5 separate regions of the Homo sapiens genome follow, and all the other regions are linked to region 4. Evidence: promoter capture Hi-C in human tissues and cell types (Jung and others, 2019). All regions are on one chromosome and are shown on one strand. Each heading gives the region's core, a stretch centred on a gene start or on the middle of the fragment in contact. The rest is flanking DNA. Distances are from core to core; before and after follow the strand shown. Region 1 overlaps SBF2 (SET binding factor 2). Region 2 overlaps SBF2 (SET binding factor 2). Region 3 has its middle 11 kb from the start of IRAG1. Region 4 holds the start of ADM (adrenomedullin). Region 5 overlaps IRAG1 (inositol 1,4,5-triphosphate receptor associated 1).

The links. Contacts are between HindIII fragments. The study calls those that stand out against the background at their distance.
Region 1: a contact is called between a fragment that was not itself captured here and the fragment with the promoter of ADM in region 4, in 3 of the 25 tissues and cell types used here (IMR-90 fibroblasts, dorsolateral prefrontal cortex and heart right ventricle).
Region 2: a fragment that was not itself captured here is called in contact with the fragment with the promoter of ADM in region 4 in 1 of the 25 tissues and cell types used here (mesendoderm cells).
Region 3: a contact is called between a fragment that was not itself captured here and the fragment with the promoter of ADM in region 4, in 1 of the 25 tissues and cell types used here (mesendoderm cells).
Region 5: a fragment that was not itself captured here is called in contact with the fragment with the promoter of ADM in region 4 in 1 of the 25 tissues and cell types used here (aorta).

Annotation. Positions count from the first base shown.
Region 1 is chr11:9,940,242-9,942,941 of GRCh38, reverse strand. All of the region lies in intron 16 of SBF2 (SET binding factor 2), which reads left to right. Among named protein-coding and RNA genes, the nearest start is that of LINC02709, 180 kb to the right of the region's middle. The HindIII fragment of the contact is 8,904 bases long and covers 1-2,700 here.
Region 2 is chr11:9,918,741-9,921,440 of GRCh38, reverse strand. The region is part of intron 16 of SBF2 (SET binding factor 2); the gene reads left to right. The region is part of intron 2 of LOC101928008 (a long non-coding RNA gene); the gene reads right to left. Among named protein-coding and RNA genes, the nearest start is that of LINC02709, 160 kb to the right of the region's middle. The HindIII fragment of the contact is 5,937 bases long and covers 1-2,700 here.
Region 3 is chr11:10,703,878-10,706,577 of GRCh38, reverse strand. No RefSeq gene overlaps it. Among named protein-coding and RNA genes, the nearest start is that of IRAG1, 11 kb to the right of the region's middle. The HindIII fragment of the contact is 4,896 bases long and covers 1-2,700 here.
Region 4 is chr11:10,303,711-10,306,410 of GRCh38, reverse strand. It overlaps ADM (adrenomedullin), which reads right to left and starts at 1,338. Exons shown (of 4, transcript NM_001124.3): 1 at 1,182-1,338; 2 at 613-731; 3 at 313-462; 4 at 1-79. The coding sequence starts at 710. It also overlaps a transcript of SBF2 not described here. RefSeq lists silencers at 747-796, 817-866, 1,547-1,596, 1,777-1,876, 2,367-2,426. The HindIII fragment of the contact is 6,042 bases long and covers 1-2,700 here.
Region 5 is chr11:10,639,574-10,642,273 of GRCh38, reverse strand. All of the region lies in intron 2 of IRAG1 (inositol 1,4,5-triphosphate receptor associated 1), which reads left to right. Among named protein-coding and RNA genes, the nearest start is that of IRAG1, 53 kb to the left of the region's middle. RefSeq lists enhancers at 91-270, 291-340. The HindIII fragment of the contact is 8,261 bases long and covers 1-2,700 here.

The sequences.
Region 1 (2,700 bases), core at 28-2,527, 360 kb after region 4:
TTCTTTCTTTCTTTCTTTCTTTCTTTCTTTCTTTCTTTCTCTCTCTCTCTTTCTTTTCTTTTCTTTCTTTCTTCCTTTCTTCCTTTCTTTCTTTGTTTTTTTTGAGACAGGGTCTTACTCTCTTACTCTGTCGCCCAGGCTTCAGTGCAGTGATGTGACCATGGCTCACTGTAGCCTCTGCCTCCTGGGCTCAGGTGATCCTCTCACCTCAACCTCCCTGGTAGCTGGGTCTACAGGTGCACGCCACCATGCCTGGCTAATTTTTTGTATTTTTAGTAGAGACAGGATTTTACCATGTTGCCCATCACATAGTCTTAATTAAAGTTTTATAATAAATTTTAATATCTACCAGGGCAAGCCCCCATGCTGTATCTTCCTAAGAAATGTCTTCTGTATTCTTTCCCCTTGTGTTTCCATATCATTTTAGAATAACCTTATTCACTTCCATGAGAGCCTCTACTGGAACTTAAATTAAGATTACATTGAATCCATAGATTAATGTAGGAAGAATTGACATTTTGCAAGTTTTCGTATCTATAAACATAGTATTGTACATCTAGATCTTTAATGTCTTTCATAACACTGTATGGGCTGGGCACAGTAGCTCATGCCTGTAGTCCCAGCACCTTGGGAGGCCTAGGCAGGAAGATTGCTTGAGCCCAGCTTGGACAACATGGCGAAACCCTGTCTCACAAAAAATACAAAAATCAGCCAGCCATGGTAGCACACACCTGTAGCCCCAGCTACATGAGAGGCTGAGATGGGAGAATCACTTGAGCCCACTCGAGGGTGCAGTGAGCCGTGATTGTGCCACCGCACTCCAGCCCAGGTGACAGTACGAGACCCTGCCTCAAAAAATACATGTATGATTTTTCTCCATGAAGGTCTCATACATATTTTGTTAAATTTATTGTTAGGTGCCCTGTTTTGTTGTTGTTACTGTAAATGCTGTCTTTTAAAATTGCATTTTCTAATTGCTTTTTTTAAAATATATAGAAATACAGTAAACTTATCTATTAATATTGCAAACTTCCTTAATTTTAGTAATTTGCCACATATTCTTTTCTGTTTTCTATGTTGGCAATCATATCATCCAGTAATAGGAATGGTTTTTACCTCACTTTCTAAACGTTATATATATATTTTTTTTCTTTCTTATTTTCTGGCAAGGACCTATAGTATAACATTAAATAGAAGTGACAGTAAGTGCCTTTCTTTTAAAGTTTAATCATTAAGCTTTATCTGTGCTAGAAGTTTTGGTAGATATTTGCTATCAGGTTATTAAGTCCATTTCCATTCCTGGTTTAAGAGTTTTTGTCATAATAGGTGTCAGTTTTATGAAATGCTTTTTGTACAGCTCTATCTCATTCTTAATGTGCAATTATTTTTATGATTGAAATCAGTTTATAATTTCTCAAATACTCCTTGGCTGGTATTGGAGCTAAGTTATACTAACGTCAAAAAATGAAATAGGGAGTATTCCTCTGTATCTCTTCTCTGAAACACTTTATGTTAGAGTGAAATCGTGTGTTCCTTGAAAGTTTGTTAAAACTCACCAGTAAAGCCACCTTAACCTAATGTTTTCTTTGGGATAATTTTTTTTTTTTTATTTTTACTGAAGAGACAGGGTCTTGCTCCATTGCCCAGGCTGGGGCTGGCACGCAGGGGTGGGAATCATAGCTTACTGCAGCCTCAAACTTATGGGCTCAAGTGATCCTCCCACCTCACTCTCCTGTGTAGCTGGGACCACAGGCATGCGCCACCATGCACAGCTAATTTATTTTTTTATTTTTTTGTAGAGACAGGGTCTCGCTTTATTGCTCAGGCTGGTTTTGAACTCTCAAGCAACTCTCCCACCTTGGCCTCCCAAAGTGCTGGGATTACAGGCATGAGCCACCACATCCAGCCTTTGGGAGAATATTTTTAATTTCTAATTATAGTCTCTTCAGGTTTTCAGCTTTTCTTGAGTTCATTTTGGTAATTATTTCCTAAGAACATGTCTACTGATTAGTGGCTTTTTTCTTTTTTAAAATTAGTTTTGTCCATTTTATTAGTCTATAAACTCTTTGCCTTTGTATCTTTGCTTTCTGTCTAATTAATTTCTTTTCTATCTTTATTATTTCCATTCATCTAAGTTTTTCACTTGTTCTATTATTTTTTACTTCTTGGGCTGCAGGTTTAAGAGGTTCCCAAATTTTCTGAGTTCACAATGAGTCCTTAGTATCTCAGCAATATTTTCTTGGTGCCCCCTGGGCCAAACCAAATACCTGACAGCTTCATTTAGTAAATCTTTCAGGCCAAGTAATGTGTATTATATTCCTACAACTTAATAGCTATTTGGGAAAAAATATACACTTAAATTTTTTCAAAAATAGTAATATTTTTATTTCATTTAAAAATAACTACAACTGCTTACTAATGGTATACGTGCTCCTGTTGGGTACTACACAGCTGCTCAGACTTTGGTATTAGACTGGCTGCACCACCACCATTTCTATCTTTTAGCATAGTATGTACTTTAAAAAAAATTTTTTTTTGAGGCAGAGTCTCGCTGTGTTGCCCAGGCTGGAGTGCAGTGGCGCGATCTTGGCTCACTGCAAGCTCCGCCTCCCAGGTTCACACCATTCTCCTGCCTCAGCCTCCCAAGTAGCTGGGACTACAGGTGCCCGCCACCATGCCCGGCTAATTTTTTTTGTATTT
Region 2 (2,700 bases), core at 29-2,528, 380 kb after region 4:
GCCACACCCAGAGTTTCTGATTAAGTAGAAACTAGGATGGAGCCCAGGAATTTGTATATTTAACAAGTTCTGGCTGGACGCGGTGGCTGAAGCCCGTAATCCCAGCACTTTGGGAGGCCCAGGCGGGCGGATAACCTGAGGTCGGGAGTAGGAGACCAACCTGACCAACATGGAGAAACCCCATCTCTACTGAAAATACAAAATTAGCCGGGCATGGTGGCGTATGCCTGTAATCCCATCTACTTGGGAGGCTGAGGCAGGAGAATCGCTTGAACCCGAGAGGTGGAAGTTGCAGTGAGCTGAGATCAAGCCATTGTACTCCAGCCTGGGCAACAAGAGCAAAACTCCAGCTCCAAAAAAAAAAAAAAAAAAAAAAGAAGTTTTCAGGTCATACTGATGCATATCATCCAGGGACCACATTTTGAAAACTATTACTATAGGCAGTAGGCTGAGAAGGGAAGAGAAGTAAACTGGAAAAGAGAAAGAAAGAAGTAGGGCAAAGTATGCAATGAATGGGAAAATTAAGGGTAGGAGGAACCCTTAAGGGTAGGTTGTGGAACCCTGACAGAACACCAGGGCATTAGAAAGACGTGGTCTCTCTCCATGTCATGCTTCCCTGACTAGGGTATCACTGTCCTCGTGCCTGGACATTCTGAAATAACGGTACAGGGCATGGTGTCCACATTGCAATTTAATATCCACTCACTTTTGTTTCGGGAAATTGGCCTCCTTCTGCAGCTAGTATTTTAAAACCAGTACTTTGAAGGGCTACTTTTTCCACACAGCACTGAAATCTTAGATAAAATCATAAAGAAATTTTAGATTAATGTCTCTTCTCACATGTGAAAGAAGATACTTTATAACTCAATAAGCAGAGAGTCTAATGATCTGCAACCTAATTATAAAATTCCTTTAAGTATATGTTCTGAAAGACAGACTAGGTTTTATGTAGGCATATGCTAATCCATATGTGTGGTAATTAATAGTATATACTTCTTGCACTGGTGCCTAGAATATCTAGATCAGGTCTCATAAACTACACACAAAGCTGGTAGCTTCTCTGTATCAGGAACTTGGCCTGACTCTTGCCTCCCTATCTCCCTGCCAAAGCTCAGTTATACAACTTAGAGTAAATTCTTCCCCCTTCCCAATTCTGCCTGTTTTTCCATGCCAAAAATAAGTAAATAAATATACATATATGATATACATATATGTGTGTGTATATATATATATATACACACACACACACACACACACATATAGTATTTGCAGTTTTGAGCCTTATGAGTTATATGTAGTTGCTGTACTCTCCCAGTATACCTGGCAACTTACTGAGTCTTATTTCTATTTCTTTGGACTAGAGGTATATATAAGATAAGAAATAAGTAAGTTTTTTTTAAAAAAGAAGAGGCCGGGCATGGTGGCTCACACCTGTAATCCCAGCACTTTAGGAGGCCCAGGCAGGCGGATCACCTGAGGTCAGGAGTTCCAGACCAGCCTGACCAACATGGAGAAACCCCTGTCTCTACTAAAAATACAAAATTAGCCGGGCATGGTGGCACATGCCTGTAATCTCAGCTTCTTGAGAGGCTGAGGCAGGAGAATTACTTGAACCTGGGAGGTGGAGGTTGTAGTGAGCCTAAGGGAGGAGACCACCCCTCATATTGTCTTATGCCCAATTTCTGCCTCCAAAGAAAGAAAAAGTAAAAACTAAAAGGCAGAAATGAAATCCACAAGCAGACAGCCCGGGGCCACACCCTGGACCTGGTAGTTAAAGATGGACCCCTGACCTAATTGGTTATGTTATCTATAGATTCCAGACATTGTATAGAAAAGCACTGTGAAAATCCCTATCCTGTTTTGTTACGACCTAATTACCGGTGCATGCAGCCCCCAGTCACGTACCCCCTGCTTGCTCAATCGATCACGACCCTCTCACGCACACCCCCTTAGAGTTGTGAGCCCTTAAAAGGGACAGAAATTGCTCACTCGGGGAGCTCGGCTTTTGAGACAGGAGTCTTGCCGATGCCCCCAGCCGAATAAACCCCTTCCTTCTTTAACTCGGAGTCTGAGGAGTTTTGTCTGTGGCTCGTCCTACTACAAGCCAAGATGGTGCCATTGCACTCCAGCCTGGGCAACAAGAGCAAAACTCTATCTCAAAAAAAAAAAAGAAGAAGAAGAAGAAGAAAGGAGAGGCTATTTCAAATCTTGATGGAAAATCAGCTAGAGAATGTGAGGGAAAAGAGATTAAAATATTCTAACAATAGTGGTATAAAGAAATGTCTAGGAATTACGAACTGAAGAATGACCTAATTCTGGGATCCTGGTAATTTACCTCCATACATTTACTTCTGCTCTTTTCCTAAAAGTTGGATAGTAGAGGATTAAAAAATAAAAAAAGCCAGATGCAGTGGCTCACACCTGTAATCCCAGCACTTTGGGAGGCCAAGGCGAGCGGATCACAAAGTCAGGAGATCAAGACCATCCTGGCTAACACGGTGAAACCGCGTCTCTACTAAAAAAAAATAGAAAAAATTAGCCGGGCGTGGTGGCAGGCGCCTGTAGTCCCAGCTACTCAGGAGGCTGAGGCAGGAGAATGGCGTGAACTCAGGAGGCAGAGCTTGCAGCGAGCCGAGATCACGCCACTGCACTCCAGCCTGGGTGACAGAGTGAGACTCCGTCTCAAAAAAAAAAAGACGT
Region 3 (2,700 bases), core at 110-2,609, 400 kb before region 4:
TCAGCGAATGATGAAGTGACCCTCACAGCCTTCACCTCCATGACCTCACGAAACCCACCGGTCTACTGACAAGGCTTTCTAAGGTCTGATAGCTTGTTTGCAATCCTCATCTCCTGGGCTCCCTGCAGTACTCTACAGGCCACCTCCTCCTCTTTTCCATGTACTGACAGCAACTTCCTGTCTCTTGCCAGTTTTTTACTGGCTCCTCATTTTTTGGTCCTCTGTGTTGATTTTCCCCTTTCTCTCTTTCCAAGCCTTTATTATGTCCTCTCTCTCTCTCTTTCTCTGTCTTTCTGACTTTCTTCCCTTAGCTCTCTTTTCTCTTACACCCACCCTAATCAGTTTACAAAGGCCTGTGACTGAAAGCTCTCCTAGAAGTCCATACTTCTGAATTCGATGTCACCAGTCTGCACCTCTCTTAAGCCACAATCCTTGTCACTCTGCATTTCTAACCATTTGCTGGGCCTCTCCATCTGGGCCTCCCACCAGCATTTCAAACTGAACTCATATCATCCTTAACCAATGCACTCCTGCTCCTGGCTTCCTCAGGGCATTAACTTCTCTCTACCTGTCCAGAGATCAAAACTTTGGAGTCACTCACTCTGTTCTTCCCATTTCCCACAAGCAGTTAGGGCACAAGTTTCTTGAGTCTCTCTCTCATCTGCCCACCTCATCACTGTTGTTCCCACTTCTCTGTGGAGCTTCACATGTTCAACTGTCCAAGTGTCATCTCTACTTGGATGTTTCACAGTCAACCAAACTTAACATGTCCAAAATAATACTCTGAGTCCATTACTCCTGTGTCCCCGGCTCGCTCCTCCCAGGCTTTCTCATCTCAATAAATGATTTTACTTTACATCAGTTGCTCAACTGGTCATCCTGGATATCCTTTTATTTCCTGAGGGCCACATCTTTATGGGGTATTTCAGGAGCGCCCAGGCTAATGTTCAGCCCATCCACCCCACCATGGCTATGAATTGTTCAAATATTAAGGTACTTCCCTGCCAGTTGCATATTGCTGCTGCCCTGAGACCTCTCCCTATCACCCCAGTCACCCTGGCCCCTTCCCTAGGATTACCTGGACCTTGTCATAGTTTGGCAACTGAAGGATTGATGCCTGGTACTGCTGGGGACTTCCAGGACCCAGCTCTAGCAGGACAGTCACTGTTACCCATACTTAGTGGCTAGTACCCCGGCCATAACAGTTGCCAACTTTCTTGAAGGCAATCCCCAGTGTTACTGATTTTGAAGATGAGGAAACTGACCTTGGAGAGGTTAATTAATTTTTCCATAGTTCCCTGGAGTCTGTCTGGCTCCAAAGTCCACTTTCTTTCCATGGCATTTTACAATAATCCCTTGACTTGTCCCCTGCCCTAGAGCAATCTTCTCAAAGCCCAGCTCATATCAGACACTTTCTCGGCTTAGAAACTTCCTGGGGCTCCCAGCCCACATAAAAGTAAGTTCAAACTCCCAAGCCTGGGGTTTAAGGCTCCTTCATTATCTGACCTACTCAGCCAGCCCCAAAACAGAACCCCTACTACTGCATTCCTGAACACTTCGCCATACCTAGGCATGTACTACTTCTTTACCTGGGAAGAAGACCCTCCCTGACCCACTCTCCATCCTTTGAAACCTTGACCTGTTTGGACTTAATAACTGCCTCAAATGTCAACTAGAAAGCAAATCTTCCCAATGCTCCACTTCTTCCTCGGAGCTCCTGCAGCACTTGGTTCAAGCTCAGTGATCCCTAACTACTGCCCATCCATGGTACTGACTGTGTTCTTCCTTATAGAATAGTTCTACTAACAACACCTCATGTAAGCACAACAACAGAGCTTGCACACCACTTTCACATAGCTTGTATTATGGATGTTACTGACTTGTTGAAGTCTTATACTATCACCTCCTGGAGGGCAGGAGCCATATCTTGCCCACCTCTGAGCCTCCCTGCCTAGCAGAGGCCTAGGCACAAGGTATGTACATAGTGCATATCTGTGGAATGAATGGGTAAGTCATGCTCTTGGGGCAGAATGCAGAAAGTAGATGACAATGTTTCCAGTAGCTGTTCCCTCCAGTCAGGATGCCAAGACCCTTTTGCTCCCTCTTTCTCCCCACCAGCCTACCTCAGGGCCTCCTTCTAATGGAAAGAACACCTAGGCACTTATTTTAATTTTTTTTATTTTTAAAATAATTTTTAAATAAAAGCAATACCTCCACATTGCTTTTTAAAAGAATCAGAAGAGAAAGCCTTGTAACAAAAAGTCCTGGTTTCCTACCCCAAGTTCTGCTGCTAGAGGGAACCCCTTTAACAGTGTCTTTTTTTACTCTTTTTCTTTTTTTGAGATGGAGTCTCTCTCTGTTTTCCAGACGGGAGTGCAGTGCCATGATCTTAACTCACTGCCACCTCTGCCTCCTGGGTTCAAGCCATTCTCCCACTTCAGCCTCCTGAGTAGCTGGGATTATAGGTGCTCGCCACCATGCCTGGCTAATTTTTGTATTTTCAGTAGAGATGGGGTTTTGCCATGTTGGCCAGGCTGGTCTCGAACTCCTGGCTTCAAGTATTCCTCCCTCCTTGGCCTTCTAAAGTGCTGAGATTACAGGCGTGAGCCACCACGCCCAGCCTAACTATGTCTTTAGATGGATACTACTGTAATGATGAATAATATAAATAATGTATGAATTACAGACATATCCCAAGGG
Region 4 (2,700 bases), core at 89-2,588:
GCCAAAGCTCCGGAGGCCCTGGAAGTTGTTCATGCTCTGGCGGTAGCGCTTGACTCGGATGCGGGCGGCATCCGGACTGCTGCGGGCGGGGGGAGGGGGAAGAAAGGCAACTTGAGACCCCATCAAGCAGAGCTTTGGCCCCAACACCGGGAACGGGAGCCATTCTAGAGCCAGAGGGAGCTGGAAACTGCTCGCGCCATCTGAGCTGCGGTCCAGCCCCGACGATCCCCCGGGCCAGGGGAGTGGAGACAGAGAACTCCTCCCGCACACCTTCCTTCCCTCCCGTCCCTGGACAGCACAGGGCGTAGTTACCTGTCTTCGGGGCTTCGAGAGGCACCCTTCATGTCCTGGGGCCGAATAAGGGTCTGGGCAGGCCCGGCCTTCACGTCAGCGAGCCCGGTGGGGTAGCTGCTGGACATCCGCAGTTCCCTCTTCCCACGACTCAGAGCCCACTTATTCCACCTGGAAAACACAAGCAGACCCGATTCGCGTGCGTTCAGGTGACGCCCAGGCCTGTCCCTGCTCCCATTCACTTCTAGACCTTCGGGACCAACGGTCAGTTCCCCTTGCCTGCCAGGTACCAGCAAGGGGGAAGGCGCTGCCCGGACTCACTTCTTTCGAAACTCCGACGCGACATCCAACCGAGCGGTGTCAGCGCCTAGGAAGGCGAGCGAACCCAGGTACATCAGGGCGACGGAAACCAGCTTCATCCCGGCTGCGAAGCGCAGACCCTGGAAAAGAAGAAAGAGAGTCGAGCGTGAGCACCCGGGCCAGCTGCACCGCCCGGGCGGGGCACGGAGGGCGGGCAGGGGCCCCGGCGAGGCGGGTTTAGCCCGCGCTTTCCCTGGCTCAGACGCTTATCTCCCTCCGCGCAGAGAGGCGCCAGAGGCGTTTGCACGCGCCGGCCGGGTGACAGGCCCCGCAGGGGAGGCCGCTGCACCCCGCCAGGCTCCCAGAGGGTCTCTGCTCAACTTCTTGGAACTTGGCTGACGGAGCAGAGGGGACTGGGTCTCTGGACCTCCAGCTGTGTGCACGAGCTGGGCCCAGGATATGGGGTGTATCTATCTCTCAGAGAACCCTCCAAAGTGGGTTGTTCCCCTCACCCAGCGCTCCCAGTTTAGGGCCTTGGCAAGCACTGCCCCCCACCCCACCTCTTAACCCGCAGGGTCTGCGGCACCTACCTGCTAAGAGAGTGATCTGCCAAGTACTTGAAGGAGAAAGTCTCAGACGTCCCACTGGCAATGGCAAAACTCCGAAGTCCAAGCCCAGCTGCAGTGAGAAGCCCGAAGTGGCAAGGCTTGAGCTGTTCTATCCAGTGTCACCAAGAAACCACTGAGTGGCCAGCTCTGGTTCCTGTGCTTTATAAGCGCACGGGTGGGGGAGCGGCGGGGCGGGGCCTGGGCTGCCCGGTTGCCTTCCCTTTCTTTCCTCAGCCACGCGCGCTCCTGCTCTCGGACGCGCGCATTGCTTCCTTTGGGGCTGGAGTTGGGATGGGGGGAGGGGGGAGCGGGGGAGAGGAGGTCCCTCGTGCCCAGAGGGCTTAGGTATGGGCTCCAGGCGGTTGGTGCAGGAACTGCCACAGCCCTCTTTGGGCACAGGGTTCAGACAGTACGCCGGAGCGAAGGGGCGCCACTACAACCTCTTGAGGTCCTTATCCAGGACCCATGCGGCCCGGAGTGCAAAGCCTCCTGGCGAAGAACAGCAAGAGCCCGCGGAAGGGACAGCGCGGATGGCCCGAGCCCTGGACCTGGGGAGCTGTGGCCTCAAGTGGACCGCGCCCCCCTGCCGGCTTGGCGCCTGACCGGGCCGCGACCCCAGACTCCCGCGGAGGGGCCGGGGCAGGGACGGAGCAAAGCCGAGAGGAGCAGGACTCACTAGTCCCCCAGAGGACCAAGACCCCGGCGTTTCGGGGTGAGCTAGTAAGATTTCACGGTAGGGACAAGGCTCAGAAAAGCTAAATTGAGAATTGGGATTTGGAGGGGGGAATTATCTGAAATTTCAGAATTTTCATTTCTATTTGGAAACATAGGAATAACCAAAATTAGGAGGAAATATACTGTTTCATTTTGCCTCCTTGTAATCCTATTATGCCTTATAAGGTCATAACCTGAGATTGTGCCTGGCTGCCTTCATTAATCCATCGTAAACGTGAGGACTGACTGCCAGGGAGCACACTAACGCTTCACGTATGCTAATCATTTTACAGTTTACCAAGCACGGCCACATCCCAGTCTACTTTGAGCTTCACAGCCACCCTTGAGTCAGGCAAGGAAGGTAACATTCCTTTTCCCATTTCAGCAGGTAGAAAATTCAAGCTCAGAGAGGGGAGGTATCTGCAGAGAGGGGAAGTCACCCTGCAGGTAGGAAGCAGCAGAGTCCCTACTCGGCCCGACACGCTAGCACGGCCGACTGGGGCGCGGCGTGGATTCCTCTAGGCTGGGGTCACCAACTTCTCAAGGGGCAAAGGAGAGTCCTAGCCCCCGCCCAAAGAATTTGTGCCTGTTCATGATGAATCACGCTAGACACGTTTGTCACCCGTTTGTGCTCTTTCATCACAGCTTCTTCTCTTTCTTACTTCTCTCCTGGGGGCCAAACTGGGAAGGAAAGGCTAAGCCACGGGGCTTCCTGCTTCGTGCTTGTGGGTTTCTGGGGTCCTACTAACCACTCCTCTAATCGAATGTCCTGAAGCCCAGCGACTCG
Region 5 (2,700 bases), core at 168-2,667, 340 kb before region 4:
AAGATTTATTTAAGGAGAACAAAATGTGGCCTGCTGGCTTATTAGAGGGTGAGCTTGCTGGGAGATGACCCAGCCCTCAGTGCTTGGCTGATTCCAGGGAAGGGAAATGGACCCCCAGGGAGGCTGGGCCCATGGAGGAGTGAGAAGGGCAGTGAGCCAAGGGCATCCTCTGCCCATGCTGTCCTTTTCTCCAGCTGTGTGTTCAGCCTTGTGCTGGTTTGAGGGCTTCCTGGAGGAAGAGGTACCTTCTGTGAAGGAGAGTGCAGCTTGGAAGAATAAGAGTGTCAGAGGCCAGCAGGGCACCAGGAACCAGGGGAGGTGAGACCAAAAACTGGGGATGCAGCTTTAAGAGTAGCGTGGTGTCGTGGGAAGGACACAGCCTGTGTTCAGTCACTTCCCCTATTTACAAGCGGCACAGCCCTGGACAAGTCAGTTTTTGCATTGATAAAGTGGAGATCAAAATAGAAAAGCAGAAGAGAAAAAAGAAAGATATCAATCTTCTACCCCATGCTCATGGCCTTCACTTTCATCTTCTCGTTTCCTCTTCACAATTCTATGAGTTTGGGAGGCATTATCACCCCCAATTTGTAGGTGGTGTCCTCAGGTTTACCCACTGAGTTTCTGGGAGGATTCGGTGAGAAAACACGAGGGGGGTCTGGGACAGGGCCCACCACACAGTGGGCCTGAGTAACTGCCAATTCCCTCTAGCCATGTTTGTTTCTGTGCTTCCATGTCTGTAACCCACAAAGGGCATTGATTGGTTTGAGAGGCAGAGGGTGAGAGGGAGTGGAGCCGGGTGAAGGTGGCCTTGGTGGTGGGTCCTTGATCACTTGGGCTTATGTGGTCAGATGCCCCAGGAGAGATGCTCCATTGCGCCGTGACCACAGTGGCTGGGCTCTCCCAATTTAACTCCAGATGGTTGAGGAGACCCAGAACTAAGAGCAACCATCTTTTCAAAACCAAATGCCAAAGTCATTAATTCAATCCCGAAGGGAATAATAAGGGAACATAACATCTAATGCTTAGTGAGCATTTGCTCAGTGCTAGGTGCACTTCCACAGGCTTGCCATCTAGGGCTGCCAGATTTGGAAAATGAAAATATGATTATATGCTGTACATGGTGGCTCACACCTGCAGTCCCAGCTACTCAGGTGAGAGGATCACCTGAGCCCAGAAATTTGAGACCAGCCTGGGCACATAGCAAGATTCAGTCGAGAGAGAGAGAGAGAATACAGTTATGTCCATGGAATATTTGAGACACACATACTAAAAATTATCTGTTGTACATTTGAAATTCAAATATAACTGGGGCATCCTGTGCTTTATCCAGAAATCCTATTTCTATATCAACTTGTTTAATTCTTATAACTACCCTGTGAGATAGTTCCATTATAGATTAGGTAACTGAGGCACAGAGAGGCAAGGTAACTTGCCCAAGGTTATCCAGCTAAAAAGTATACCATAAGGTAGTGTGGCTTCTGAGCCTGAGGCCCTGAAGCCCCTAAGCCAGTAGGTTGTCTGGCCAACGCTATTTGGTCTTACTGCTCTCCCAAGCTTTCTTGAAGGCCTGCCTTGTGTTTGACAGCTCAGAATGGGAGCAGGGATGCGTGTGTGCACTGCATGAAAATCTGGCAGAATTCACCCCAGAGGGCCCCTAGAATCTTCCCACACACTCTCTCCTGGATTACTGTCTCCCCAGTCCCTGATAGAGTGAAAAACAGCCCCCACAAGACCTGAATGTTCCCACCAAAACAGTTTTGCAGAAAAGGAGAAGTTGCCCAGAGCTTGCTCAACGATTCTGTCAGCTGATGAGGGAAAGAACACTATGATTTTATGAGTTGTGTATTTTGCACACATTAGAAGGCAAGTGTGAAGAACCTTCCAGGATGTTCCATCAAGGGATTAGAGGATTTCCTCCTAATCGCTTTATGCTTCCTGCTTTGTAAGCCACTTGGAATTGTGAGTGTCTGCGGTTACCTGCTTGGCACTTGCCACCCATGGCTTGTTTCTGCCTTTTTGTATGGGCACCTCTGCCATGGTCCTCCTCCCCAGTGAGATGCCTACAGTCAGGAGAGCTTTGCTTCAGGTAACCATTAGCCAGCAAGCAGAGAAAGCTCCTATCAGAAGGCAGCTCACTCCCGTGCCTTGTACCCATTTACCTGGTAGGTATCAACACCGAGGGCACTATTAGTAATAGCAGTGGAGGTTACTTCCCCTTCTCTCCCCATTCCTTCATGCTAATGAATGGGAAGCATTGCAGAGGCCCGCTCAGTTCACCTTTGTCTTCCCAGACCTTAGCATAGACCCTGGCCACAATAGGCATTCAATAAATGTTTGCCGGATGATTGGACAGAATAAGGTCCAATAATGTGGGAGTGTTCACAGACCACATCCCTTTCTTGGACGCCAAACAGAATCTGATCATTGCCAGCCCAGTGCCCCTCTCTTCTCCAAGAAGGTCTTTGCTCTGTAAGACTCTTCAGTAAATGTTTGTGAGTCAATCATACAAACAAATGAAGACAATCTGCACAAAAAATAACTGGATGGAGCTGGGGGAGTAAAGGCTGGAGCAGGAGAAAAAGAGAAAGAAGGTAGACAGAGGATCTGGGCAGGGAGGCAAGCAGGGGAAGAGTCATCAGAGAGGGGGCGTGAGAATCGTTAAGGAAAGAGAAAAGGGCAGAGGAGAGGTCAGGATGGGAG